Regions from separate parts of the Homo sapiens genome. Here region 1 is linked to region 2. The links are contacts of gene promoters, found by promoter capture Hi-C in blood cells and fetal thymus (Javierre and others, 2016). All regions are on one chromosome and are shown on one strand. The core of a region is centred on a gene start or on the middle of the fragment in contact, and the rest is flanking DNA. Distances in the headings are between cores, read along the strand shown. Region 1 holds the start of CTNNBL1 (catenin beta like 1). Region 2 holds the start of ACTR5 (actin related protein 5).

Region 1 (7,448 bases), core at 79-2,578, 1.1 Mb before region 2:
TACTAGGCTTGGGGGATACAGTGGTGAACATGACACACACATGTCCTGCTTGCATAGAGCTTGCAATCCAGTAAATGAGGCTGTCAAGAAACAAATAGTCAACCATTAAGCACAAAATTACAGAATGAGATATATACGTAGTGGAGCAGGTACTTGGAAAAAGAATAATGAGGAGAGAGGTTGATTACCTGGACCAGGGTGAGTTGAAGAAGCCCTTGTAAGAAAGTGACATTTGAGACCCGAAAGATGAGAGAATTGGATGAGGTATGGTGCTGATGGCCAGGCAGAAGGGGAGAGGATTTGTCATTCTGAGGAATAAGAATAATTTCTGTATAATTGGAGCCAGTGCAGATGGGATGGGGACCAAAATTATAAATATGAAGGGCATATAAATATAATATAATACATAAATATAATTATAAATATAAAGGACAGGGGCTTATGGAAGGAGGTTTAATTTCCTTTGAAGATGGAGCCTTAAGTCCCAGGTGCATTCTGATCTTGTTTAAGATCAGATGCACTCTGAATGATTCTCTTCCAATTATGGGCAACTTTCTCCTCCAGAAACCTTTTTATATCACCTGGGTAGCAAGGGGATCATCTAGTGACCGTTAGACTTCGCATAGATGAGCAGACACAAGCCTAGAGAGGGACATGTGATCACCAATAGTTTCTCAGCCAGTAATAGTTGTACAGCCTTGGAACAAGTCACTTTTTGAGCCAGCACTATCTGATAGAAATTAATGGGAACCACAAATGAGAGCCACATGTGTAATTTAAAACTTTCTACTAACCACATTTAAGAAGTAAAGAGAAACAGGTAAAATTCATTTTATAATATATGAATTTGACCCAGTATATCCAAAATATCATTTCAACCTGTAATCAATGTAAGTCTTAGAAATCTGGTGTGTATTTTATTTACACTTATGGCACATCTCACTTCGGAGTAGCCATATCTCAAGCGCTCGGTAGCCATATGTGGCTAGTGAGTAAAGTATTGGATGGTGCAGTTGGGAGCGTCAGTTTCCTTTTCTGTGAAATGAGGATAAATCACTGGAAGCTCGTGAGAGCGCACACGAAACACCCGGCACTCCGCCCTGGACACTAGGGACGCGCAATCAAGTTTGGTTTCTTCTGGTCCCTGCTCTCCCCTCCCGCCCCTCCTCTAAGTCTCCGCCCCCTTTCCCCGCCCCCTCAGGCTCCAGGCGGAAGCAACCCTGTTCCAAATGCAGCGCGCTTTACGGCGGCGCGTCCTTTTACCGCGGTGTGGCCGGCTCGCTTGTCGCTCGCACTTTTGCCCTATTGGCTCTGCGGCTCCGCTCGCCGCACTTTACGGCAGTGTGGCTGGAGCCGCGGCTGACGGGCCCGCGGTCTGGGCGTGAGTGCAGGGAAGTGGAGTATTTGCTGGGCCGGGTACCATGGACGTGGGCGAACTTCTGAGCTACCAGGTATGAGGGGCAGGGAGGGCCGAGCGACCGCGTTCTCACCTGGGCAGGGGTCGCAGGAGCCAGAGCCCTTTCATCTCACCTCCTCTCGCCTCACTCCCGGGCCCTCTAACTTCTCATGCCACCCGGGGTCTCAGCCCCTCGTTTTACTTTGCTCTCCGAAGCCCTCCTGGGCCCTTTCGATTCATCCCTTCTCAAGACCTGAGCCCTTCACCTCCTCTTCCTCACCCTGGGGCCTGGTTCCCTGAAACTCCTCTGAAACCCCAGACTATCCTTTTTTTCACAACCATGTCCTCTCAGCTCTCATGTCCCCCCAGTCATTGAGGTGATGGTGGTGGCGGCGGTGGGAGTGCACTGGTCTCACTTGGATTTGATCTCCAGCTTCTCCACTGACTGGCTATGTGGCTTTTGGACAAGTCATTCCCCCCCTCTTTGAACCAAGTTTTTGTATCTATATAGTGGAGACACTAATAACTGCCTTAGTAGGGTTGTTTGAGGACTGTACCAACTGATATGTATGAAAGCTGGTTTTAAAGTGTGGAAAGCTGTGCTTGTGTTTACTGCGATTTGCAGGAGATGTTGGGAATTCTAGCATGGAATGAGTTTCTAGGAATCTTGCTCAGGGTCCCCCTTGCCTAGGAAACTTGTGGGGAAACTGTATGGGACCTAGAGAGCAGAAAGGGCTTGTCCAAAGTCACTCAGAAACAAGGAGCTGGAATTTGAGCTCAGGCGTACTGACTTCCACCCCAAAGTTTTTCCCCCACTTTGATTCCATAGGAGGGTCATTGCGAGGAGCAGTAGAGCTGCACTGCCGAATGTCGTAGCCACTAGCCACATAGGCTGTTGATTGCTTGAAATGTGACTAGTCTGAATTGAGAAATACTGTAAGTATAAAGACACATTTGGGTTGGAGACTAGTATGGAAAAAGTGAAATTTTTATATTGATTACATGATCGTACTGATTATATCAATTACATTGGTTATTGGTCATATTGATTAAATGATCATATTTTGGATAATGGGTGAAATAAAATATACTTAATTAATTTTTAAAATTTTATTTTATTGTTATTTAGAGACAGGATCTTGCTCTGTCGCCCATGCTGGAGTGCAGTGGCACAATCATTGCTCACAGTAGCCTTAAACTCCTAGGTCTAAGGTATCCTCCCAAGTAGCTAGGACTGCAGGCAGGCATCACTATGCTTGGCTGATTTTTAAATTTTTTGTAGAGACAGGGTCTTGCTATGTTGCCCAAGATGGTCTCAAACTCCTAGCCTCAAGCAGTCTTCCCACTTGGCCTCCCAAAGTGCTGGGATTACAGGTATGAGCCACCACACACCACACTCAGCCAATAAAATATGTTTAAAACCAATTTTAACTGCCCCTCTTGACATTTTAATGTGTTTACTAGAAAATTTAAAACAACATATATAGTTCAGCTTATATTTTTGTTAGACAGCCCTGCAGTCAAGAATAGGTGATTAAGAGCCATGAGTCTGGACCCCTAGGTTGCTGGCAGTCTCTGTTTTGCTACTAACTGGCTGCTGTAACCTTGAACAAAATACTTAATTTCTCTCTGCCTTGGTTTCTTCATCTGTAAATGGGGGACAGTGACGGTAGCTGCCTCACAGGGCTGTTGTGAAGCTGTTGAGAAATGGAAAGTCCTTAGACAATGCTTGCCAAAGAGTAAACATTCAGTAAATATTAGCAGTTATTTTCATACCACTCCCTCAGCCAAAGTACAAGAAATTGACCCTGGACGCTTAAGACATCATGGGAAAGAACAGTTCAGCAATGGGGAGCTATATAGCCAAGAGATTTTTCTTTTAAAGACAGTTTAATTGATAGTGAAAGATGAAGGGAAATAGGCAAGTTATTAAATCAGTGATTGTATGCCGGCTTGGAATTTCTAGAATGGCTAGCCCATTAAAGCTAGAAGAGTTTCATTCATTTGCTCAACAAATATATATTGAACACCTACTGTGTGCAAGGCAGTCTATCCACTGGGTATACAACACTGAATAAAAGACAAGATTCTTGCTTTTGTGGAGCATCTGGTGGGAAGTTACAAGATAATAAGTAAACAATGCATTCAGTTTGTGGTAAGTGCTGGGAAGGGAATATAGCAGAGTATGCTATAAAATTGCACTGCTTTGTATAGTAGCCACTAGGCACATGTGATTATTGAATACTTAAAATGTGACTAGTTTCGAATTTAGATCTGCTACATGTGCAAAATACACACTGGATTTCAAAGATTTAGTATGAAAATAATGTACAATATCTTTTTTTTTTTTTTTTTTTTTTTTTGAGATGGAGTTTCACTCTTGTTGCCCAGGCTGGAGTGCAATGGTGAGATCTCAGCTGACTGCAACCTCTGCCTCTTGGGTTCAAGCGATTCTCCTGCCTCAGCCTCCTGAGTAGCTGGGATTACGGGCATGCGCCACCACGCCTGGCTAATTTTTGTATTTTTAGTAGAGATGGGGTTTCTCCATGTTGGTCAGGCTGGTCTTGACTCCCAACCTCAGGTGATCTGCCAGCCTTGGCCTCCCAAAGTGCTGTGATTACAGGCGTGAGCCACTGCCCCTGGCCACGTGAAAATAATGTACAGTACCTTAACTTTTATGCTGATTACATGTTGAATAAATGATAACACTTACGATATATTGGATTAAAGAAAATATATTATTAAAATTAATGTTGCTTTTTAAAAAACTTTTAAAATGTGGCTACTAGAAAATGTAAAGTGGGCCGGGTGTGGTAGCTCATGCCTGTAATCCCAGCACTTTGGAAGGCTGAGGCGGGTGGGTCACCTGAGGTTGGGAGTTTGAGACCAGCCTGACCAACATGAAGAAACCATGTCTCTACTAAAAATATAAAAAATTAGCCGGGCGTGGTGGTGCATGCCTGTAATCCCAGCTACTTGGGAGGCTGAGGCAGGAGAATTGCTTGAACCTGGGAGGTAGAGGTTGCAGTGAGCTGAGATCATCCCATTGCACTCCAGCCTGGGCAACAAGAGCGAAACTCTCTCTCAAAGAAAAAAAAAAAGAAAGAAAATGTAAAGTTAGGTGTTTTGTTTGTGGCTTTTGTTGTATTTTTATTGGACAACACTCCTGTCGAAAATAACCCCTGGGAGTTGGGGACAGGACCTTTTACTTTATGTAATGTGGTCGAGGAAGGACACAGAGGAATGGGCATTAAAGGACTGAAGGTTGAGAGGGACCCAGTCATGTGAAGGGAGCAGAATGATGGAGGCAGCAAGAACAGCAAGTATGGACATAGGCTATTGGTAGAAGCTGGTGCAGCCTCATAGGGGACCAGAAAGAGGATCTATGTAGCTGAAACGGGAAGTGAGCAGGGGAATGGTAAGTGACAAAGCTGAAGATGTAGGCATGTGACAAGACTATGTAGGCCTTCCTTGTGGGCCACGATAAAGACCTTGACTTTGAGAGATACGGTAGATACCTTCATTCAACCCACTTGTTCATGGATGAAAGTGAACCTTAGTCTGATAAAGGGACTCACCTGAGGTTGTGGGCCAAGATGGTGGCCAGAGTTGAAACTAGAATCCTGGTCTCCTTATTATTATTTTTTAATGTTTACACATCTTACCACATTTAATCTTAATGGCAGTACTTAATATGTTAATATAGGAACCTTCATTTTAAAGATGAGGGAATAGGTATAGAGAATAAAAAACGTGTCCAGATTCACACAAGTGAAATGTACCTCAAGGATTCCAATCTAGGTAGCTTTGCTTCGTGATCATAAACATTTGTTTATTGTGTTATTCCAAAAGTATTTCATTTTGTCAATCTGACCCCTTTCCCCCTCACCAAGAGCAAATATGCCTAGCGCCTACAGGTAGATTGGGGTTGCCACAGGCTAATTTTCCTGAACTGCAAAATATTACTTGCCTTCCTTATCCTGGATCTTGGCCTTTACATTTTCTATTGTATCTGAGGGTTCAATCTAAGAGTTTTAAAATGCAAATATGTTGGTTGCACAATAAGGAACTACAATACTAGAACTCATTTAATTCAGGTTGACAACACTGAACTGAACCAGTAACAGGGCTGAAACCTCCTAAGTCTGCTACTGGAGAGCACTTTGATCTCGCCAGCCTAGGGCGGGCATGCTCATGTCCAGCTGGCCAGCCAGGAGCATCTCCTTCCCCATCGCAGGTTCCCCACTTTGGTTAATTGGCCGGCTAGAACCATTCGAGAGGTGAGAGGCCCACCCGTTAGGCACCAAAAACCAGCTCTAGGCCTTTGCTCAGCGAAATATCCTCAATTCAAGGCTAAGTTTCAGAACCCAAATTCAGAATCATGGTCTAAGGCTTGGAAAGCAGCACCAGTCCCAAAATCCACCTCAGGACCTTATTCAGGCCCTGGCTTCCTTACACCACCTGGCCCTTATCTCAGAATCCTGGTCTCCTTATTTCCAACTCTGTACATTCCCCATGTGTTCTGTTCATTCAGTTTTCTTTTTGTAAGATCCATGTCCACTCTTCCTGTTCCTAAAAGATGGTAAAGGCTGGAATGTAGTTCATAATCAGTTGCACCCATCCTCTTGCAGAAAGTCATGAGTTTATGGATGCAAAAGTTCTTTGAGGCCAAGCGTGGTTGTTCACCCCTGTAATCCCAGCACTTTGGGAGGCCAAGGCAGGCGGATCTCTTGAGTCCAGGAGTTCCAGACCAGCCTGGGCAACATGGTGAAAACCTGTCTCTACAAAAAGTTTAAAAATCAGCTGGGCATGGTGGTGTGTGTCTGTGGTCCCAGCTACTTAGGAGGCTGAGGAGGGAGGATTACTTGAGCCTGGGAAGCAGAAGTTACACTGAGCCAAGATCATGCCACTGTGCTCTAGCCTGGGTGACAGAGCAAGACCCTGTCTCAAAAACAAAAAACAAACAAACAAAAAAACTCCTTGAAAACAGTAACATTTTATAGACATGAAAGATGCTTTACTAACCAGCATGATCTATCTAAATCCTCATAACAACCCTATGAGGAAGGTACTGTTGTTAATCCCTGTTGTACAGATAAGGAAACTGAGGTACAGAAAAGAGCACCTACCTTAAGGCATCTAGCTAGGTAGAGGCAAGTCCAGGGTACCCGGGTAGTCTTACTTCATAGTTGGAGCTCCTAACCACTGTGCCATACTGCCTGCCTGCTATATGCCAGATGCAGAACCAAAGTGTTTTCAGACAAGTTATCACATTTAATTCTCAACATGCCTTCTGAGGTTGGCAGCATGCCTGTATTATAGGAAAGGAAACTCAACCTAGGGAGGTCAAGCTGCCTGCCGAAAGCCAGACAACCAGTAAGGAGCAGGGCCAGAACTGAAACCAGCTGAACACTCAGAGGTAGTTTTCCATTTTGTTTTCAGATTTGAAAACTTTTTAAAGTTGAAGTATAGTCCACATGTTGAATAATACATACATCTTATGAGCCTTTGGTTATAGTTATCATTTACAAAGTAGACTCAGTACGACCACTGAAGTTTGCTTCTCAGGGACATAAGGGAACAAAATTGTCTGATTTGAACATCCCCATCCCTAGAGTTTGATTCAGTCTCCTGTGGGACTTTAGATTCTGCATTTCTAACCAGATCCCAGGTGATGCTGATGCTGTACTTTGTGATCCCCTGGTCTAAAATGATCTCCCTTCCTTGAAAAATTTTCCCCAGCTGAGACATTCTCTTCCTCTCTTGTGGGCATTGGTTTGCAGATTTTTGAGCTTAAGTTGTACTTTTTCCCTGCCATTCAAGATATTGAGAGCAAATCACTTAATCTTCCTGGGCCTCAGTTTCCTCATATGCCTAATGAGGGGATTAAGTACGCGACTCTCTCTGAGGCCCCTTCTAGCTTTAAAATTCTGTGGTACTAATTATTTAGACCGGGGCTCCAGAGATTTCAAGGGATAAAAACGCTTCATGTGGTAGACTGAGTGGGGCTGAGAATCTGGGAGATTTGGGTTTTAATCCCACTTTTATCATT
Region 2 (6,886 bases), core at 4,382-6,881:
CTGATTCACTACATCCGTGAATGTGCCCTCATTTAGAAATATAGTTGTTGCAGGTACATAGTACAGATATAATCAGTGAAGCTCATACTGAAGTAGGGTGGGGCCCTAATCCAATAAGACTGGTGCTCTTAGAAGAAGAGGAAAAGTGGGCTGGGCGTGGTGGCTCACACCTGTAATCCCAAAACTGTAGGAGGTCGAGGCAGGTGGATCACAAGGTCAGGAGTTCGAGACCCGCCTGGCCAATATGGTGAAACCCTGTCTCTACTAAAAATGCAAAAAATTAGCTGGGCGTGGTGGCGCATGATTGTAATCCCAGCTACTTGGGAGGCAGAGGTTGCAGTGAGCCAAGATGGCACCACTGCACTCCAGCCTGGGCAACAGAGCGAGACTCTATCTCAAAAAAAAAAAAAAATTAAAAAATAAAAAGAAGAGGAAAAGAGACAGATACACTCAAGGGGAGCACCACATGATGACGGCAGCAGAGACTGGAGAGGCCAAGCAATGCTGAGGATTGCAGGTGTGTTCGTCACTGAGGATTGCAGGTGTGTTCGTCAGGATTCCCCAGAGAAAGAGAACTAATATTATATATGTATACATACTTACACACACTACATGGAATTGGGTTACTCAGTTACAGAGGTAAGCAAGTTCTAAGATCTTCAGGGTGAGTTGGAAAGCTGGAGGCCCAGGAGAGCCAATGGTTTAGTTCTAGTCTGAGTCTGTATTAGTCCGTTCTCGCCCTGCTATAAAGAAGTTCCTGAGACTGTGTAACTTCCAAAGAAAAGAGATTTAATTGGCTCATGGTTCTGCGGGTTATACAAGCTTCACTTCTGGGGAGGCCTCAGGAAACTTAACAATCATGGTGGAAGGCAAAGGGGAAGCAAGTACTATCTTCACATGGTGGAGCAGGAGAGAGCAAGCGAAGGGAGAAACAACCAGATCTTGTGAGAACTCTACCACAAGACCAGCCAGGTCCATGGTGCTAAACCATTAGAACCACCCTATGATCCAATCACCTCCCAGCAGGCCCCACCTCCAACGCTGGGAATTATAATTCAACACGAGATCTCCGTGGTGACACAGAGCCAAACCATATCAGAGTCCAAGTCCGAAGGCCTGAGAACTGGCCTTAGTAGTGTAGTTCCAGTCTGAAGGTCAGCAGTCTTGAGACCAAGGAAGAGTCTATGTTTCAGTTCAAGTCTAAAGGCAGGAAAGGCTGGGCGGCGGCTCATGCCTGTAATTCCAGCACTTTGGGAGGCCAAGGCGGGTGGATCACCTGAGGTCGGGAGTTCAAGACTAGTCTGACCAACATGGAGAAACCCTGTCTCTACTAAAAATGCAAAATTAGCAGGGCATGGTGGCACATGCCTGTAATCCCAGCTACTCAGGAGGGTGAGGCAGGAGAATTGCTTGAACCTGGGAGGTAGAGGTTTCGGTGAGCCGAGATCGTGTCATTGCACTTCAGCCTGGGCAACAAGAGTGAAGCTCTGTCTCAAAAAAAAAAAAAAAAAAAAAAAGGAAAAAAGCTGATGTCCCAGTCCAAAGCCATTCAGGCAGGGAGAGTCAGCCTCTTTGTTCTATTGAACTGATTGGATGAGGCCCACTCACATTAGGAAGGGAAATCTGCTTTACTCAGTCTACTGATTGAAATGTTCATCTCATCCTAAAGCACTCCATAGAAAACACCCAGAAAAATGTTTGACCAAATATCTGGGCAGCCAGAAAGGCTGACATAAAACCAACCATCATAGCTGACAGCACCAGGAAGCTAAGAGAAAGCTGTGGAACAAATACTACCCTGGAGCCTTCAAGAAGAGCATGGCCATGCCGACACCTTAATTTTAGCCTTCTGCCTCCAGAAGTGTAAGAAAATAAATTTCTCTTGTTTCAAGTCATCCTACTTTGTGGTACTATGTTACAGCAGCTAGGAAAATAATACAGTAGGCTTCTAAAGCATTTTTTTTGAGACAGAGTCTTGCTCTGTTGCCCAGGCTGGAGTGCAGTGGCACAATCTCAGCTCACTGCAACCTCCACCTTCCAGGTTCAAGTGATTCTTGTGCCTCAGCCTCCTGAGTAGCTGCGACTAAAGGTGTGCACCACCATGCCCAGCTAATTTTTTGTATTTTTAGTAAAGACAGGCTTTCTCCATGTTGGCCAGGCTGGTCTCGAACTCCTGACCTCAAGTGATCTGCCCCACGGCCTCCTAAAGTGCTGGGATTACAGGCGTGAACCGCTGCACCCAGCCTAATGTATTTTTTTCTAGTCATTTCCATGGGTAAATCTTTACAGCCCTAGATTTTGTCTAGTGCTACAGTGTGCAATAGAGTAGCCACTAGCTACATGACTATTTAAATTTAAACTAAAATTAAGGCTGGGTGCAATGGCTCACACCTGTAATCCCAGCATTTTAGGAGGCCGAGGTGGGCAGATCACTTGAGGTGAGGAATTCACAACCAGCCTGGCCAACATGGTGCAACCCTGTCTCTAATGAAAATACAAAAATTACCGGGGTGTGGTGGTGCATGCCTGTAATCCCAGCTACTCGGGAGGCTGAGGCAGGAGAATCGCTTGAACCTGGGAGGCAGAGGTTACAGTGAGCCGAGATTGTGCCACTTCACTCCAGCCTGGGTGACAAGAGCGAAACTCCATCAAAAAAAAAAAAAAAAGAAAGAAAGAAAGAAAAATTAAAATTAAGAACATTTTAAAAATTCAGTTCTTCAGTTACACTATTCACATTTCAAGTGCTCTGCGGCCACATGTGGTTACTGGCCACTGTGTTAGACACAACAGATACTAGATCATCTCCATCAATTTGCACATTTCCAATGTACAAAGTTCTGTTGGACAGCATTGGTCTAGTGTATTAGTCGGTTTTCTCCTGCAATAATACTGCATAGCAACTCCAGAATTTCAGTGGTTTATAAGAATAAACATTTTTCTTGTTCAGAGGTCCATGGGGCAGCTCAACTTTAGGTTGCAGGTTGGCTGGACTTGGCTTCGGACTGCAGTTTAGGTTCAGATCTGCTCCATGTATCTCTTATCCTCTTTGGACTCAGGTATGTTCCTCTCATGACTAAAAGCAGGAGTGCAAGAAGGCAATCTAAACCAATCATATTCAGTTAACAGTCCATTGGCTAAAGCAAGTCACATGACCAAGCCTAATATCAGTGTCCTCAAGGAGAGGCTCTACAAAGTTACAAGGCAAATGGTATGGATGTATCATCCTACTATAAAGGAGTGAAGAAAAAAAAAGTAAAGGAATGAAGAACTGGGAATAATAATCCAATCTACCTCATGTGCCAAACGCTTATAAAGACCAGCCTGGGCAACATGGCAAAACTCTGTCTCTATGTGGTGGTGTGCACTTGTAGTCCCAACTACTAGTGAGGTTGAGGCTGGTCTTGAACTTCTGGGCTAAAGCAGTCCTCCCACCTCAGCCTCCCAAAGTGCTGGGATTACAGGCATGAGCCACCACACTGGCCATCCCCGTTGGAGTTGCCTCTCATATATATATAAAATAATAATATATATAATATATATATTTACCTTGGTGCTTTTCTTTTTTTCTTTTTTGTGAGACAAAGTTTCACTCTTGTTGCTCAGGCTGGAGTGCACTGGCGTGATCTCGGCTCACTGCAACCTCCGCCTCCAGGGTTCAAGCGATTCTCTTGCCTCAGCCTCCCAAGTAGCTGGGATTACAGACACCTGCCACCATGCCCAGCTAATTTTTGTATTTTTACTAGAGACGGGGTTTCACCATGTTGGCCAGGCTGGTCTCGAACTCCCGACCTCAGGCGATCCACCAGCCTCGGCCTCCCAAAGTGCTGGGATTACAGGTGTGAGCCACTGCGCCCAGCCAGTGCTTTTTCATATTAATATACATAGACACAATTCTTAAATTAACATTCACTAACTTACATTTACTGGTTTCTGTGTTCTGCTGGTCCCCCTCTTAATTAACTTAACGATGGTTACTTCAGATATCTGAACAATGGACGTGTGTTGAAAGACAACACAACCTGATTTTTGCCACTGGGCTGGCTCCCAATCTGGTTTAGGTGTGTTAACAGGCTGGGCCCGTCGTCTCAAGCCTGTAATCCCAGCACTTTGGGAGGCCGAGGCAGGCGGATCACTTGAGCCAAGGAGTTCGAGACCAGCCTGGCCAACGTGGCGAAATCCCGTCTGTATTAAAAATAAAAAAAATTAGCTGGGTGTTGTGGAGCATGCCTGTAATCCCAGCTACTCGGGAGGCTGAGGCAGGTGAATTGCTTGAACCGGGGATGTGGAGGTTGCAGTGAGCCAAGATCACACCACTGCACTCCAGCCTGGGTGACAGAGCCAGACTCCGTCTTAAAAAAAACAAACAACAACAACAACAAACACTGTTAATAGAGGTTCTTGAGATAAGTTAGGAGTTTCATTTCTCGCTTACAATATCTTTTGTAACTAATTTGATTTTATCTCTCAAACTGAAGTGTTATAGACCTGGTAGAGTAGATTCAAGGCAGCTGCTCTATTCTTTTTCTTCTTTCAAAATGGTTATGGCCAGCATGGGCAACATAGTGAAATCCCTTCTCTACTAAAAATATAAAAATTAGCTGGGCGTGGTGGTGCACGCCTGTAATCTCAGCTACTTAGGAGGCTGAGGCGGGAGAATCACTTGAGTCCAGGAAGTCGAGGCTGCAGTGAGCCGAGATCGCCCCACTGCACAAAAAAAGGTTGTAGTAAAACAACTGCTCTAATTCTTACCCCCTTAGCTAGTGAAAAGATGGAAATGCGACAGGATAGAGCGCGACGAGTGCTTTTAGGGCTAAAACTGAGTGGGTCACACACATGGCCTCCTCTCCCACCCGCTCCTGGCCAGAATTTAGTCACATGAGCGCATCTAGATCGCAGCCAGACGGATGGCCACGTGGGAGTGGGAGGTGATGCCACTAAAAGAGAGGGAATGCTTGGGGAACAATCAGCAGTCTTTTCTCAGGGTTTGAGAAAACACTGTGTCTTAGTGAGAAGACACAGTCTGTGCGAGTTAGTAAAGTGAACAGAACTGAGTAGTCAGCTCCCTAGTCAAGAAATTGAACAGTCGGCAGAGTTTGAGATTTCTTAACGTAAAGGAAGCGTCAAAAGATAAAGGACCCTTCTAGCCAGGACGCAAGACTGAGGGCGAGACAGCCACGCGGAGGCGGGGCCGCCGGCGGTCGAAGGTGCGCGCCCGGCCGACGGTGCGCGCCCGGCCGACGGTGCGCGCCCGGCAATGGGGCGTGGCCAGGCAGAGAGGCGGGGCTCCACCGAGCGCGGCGCTGAAGCTGGCAGCCAGAAAGGGGCGGGGCCTGGCGGCGATAGGCTTTGGGGCGGGGCTTCCAAACCGGGCGTCCCGGCTAGAGTGAAGGGGCGTGGGCACTCATAGGCTATTGGGGGAGAGGTTAAGAAACGTAGAATTTCGCAGCCAGAATGGGTACGTCTCAGCGATCCTGAAAGCAGCCTTGACAGCCAGAGGCGAGTCAAGTGGAAAGGCTGGCCGGGCTTCGAGAAGGGAGGGGGCATCGAGGTACTTAAAGGCCTGAATCGCGCGGCGTGACGTCGGGGGCGCGGTTTCGCGGCGTCTGGGCGGACACTGCGCCGAGGGGCGGGGCTGGACGCGCGCTCCAAGATGGCGGCGAACGTGTTCCCGTTCCGCGACGCCCGTGCCGCACCGGACCCAGTGCTGGAGGCCGGCCCGGTGGCACACGGGCCACTGCCGGTACCGCTGGTGCTGGACAACGGGTCGTTCCAAGTCCGCGCTGGCTGGGCGTGTCCCGGGCAGGACCCAGGTCCCGAGCCGCGCCTGCAGTTCCGCGCGGTGTGCGCCCGCGGTCGTGGCGGGGCACGGGGCGCGTCGGGCCCGCAGGTGGGGAACGCTCTGGGCAGCCTGGAGCCACTGCGCTGGATGCTGCGCTCGCCCTTCGACCGCAACGTGCCGGTCAACCTGGAGCTTCAGGAGTTGCTGCTGGACTACAGCTTCCAGCACCTGGGTGTCTCCTCACAGGTGAAGGGCGGAGTAGGCTGGGCTGGGCTGGGTTTGAGGGGAGGGGTGCGGTCTCGTCTCCGCTCACTCTGCTCTCGGAGAGGTAACAGTCACTTCAGTAGCTCCGATTGTCTTTTAGTCGACCAGATGCTAGGCGCTGTGGGTGTAGCAGCGAATAAAATGCTGCTCCTTGTATCTTGGAGCATACCTTTGGGCATATATGCTTGTTTGTTAAGAAGCCCATTTATTAACAAATACGTATTGAGCACTTACTCTGTGTCAGGCACTTTTTAGGCATTTGGAGTACATGTGTGAACACAAAACTTCCTGTGCTTATGGAGCTGTTAATACTATGGAAAGATATTCTAGTATGAAAAGGCAGACAGTAAACATAGAAATAGTAGATTCTACGCCGTGATAGGAGAGGAGGGAGTTACATTTTTTCAGTAAGATGGTCAGGGTAGGACTCGTGAAGGTGATGTTTGAGCAAGGACTTGAAGGAGGTGATTCAGGTAGCAAGCCATGTGAATATCTGAAGGAAAAACGGTCCAGGCAGAGGGAGCAGCCAGTAAAAAGGCCCCGAGGCAGGAGTGTGCCCTAATCCTAACTGCAAGGCTGCCTGTGTGAGGGGGAGAGTAGTACCTGAAAGAGGATGTCAGAGAGGTAGTGGAGAGGCAGATCACACACCTTATAGGCTTTTACTGAGTGAAATGGGGAGCCATGGCAGGGTGTTGAGCTGAAGAAGGACCTGACTTGTGTTTTAAAAGGATCACTATTACTGCTGTATGGAGAATGAATTGTCTTGGATCATAGGGTGGAAACAGGGACGAGTTAGGAGGCTGTTGGAATAACCCAGGTAAGGGATGATGGTGGCTTAGATGA

The links. Contacts are between HindIII fragments. The CHiCAGO score rates a contact against its expected background, and 5 or more counts as called.
Region 1: a contact is called between the fragment with the promoter of CTNNBL1 here and the fragment with the promoter of ACTR5 in region 2, in 1 of 17 cell types (neutrophils). The highest score is 5.6, in neutrophils.

Annotation. Positions count from the first base shown.
Region 1 is chr20:37,692,702-37,700,149 of GRCh38, forward strand. It overlaps CTNNBL1 (catenin beta like 1), which reads left to right and starts at 1,329. Exons shown (of 16, transcript NM_030877.5): 1 at 1,329-1,451. The coding sequence starts at 1,422. RefSeq lists an enhancer at 1,607-1,666 and a silencer at 4,650-4,799. The HindIII fragment of the contact is 18,373 bases long and covers 1-7,448 here.
Region 2 is chr20:38,742,829-38,749,714 of GRCh38, forward strand. ACTR5 (actin related protein 5) reads left to right here and starts at 5,632. Exons shown (of 9, transcript NM_024855.4): 1 at 5,632-6,025. The coding sequence starts at 5,651. RefSeq lists silencers at 5,108-5,377, 5,678-5,867 and an enhancer at 5,228-5,729. The HindIII fragment of the contact is 9,906 bases long and covers 821-6,886 here.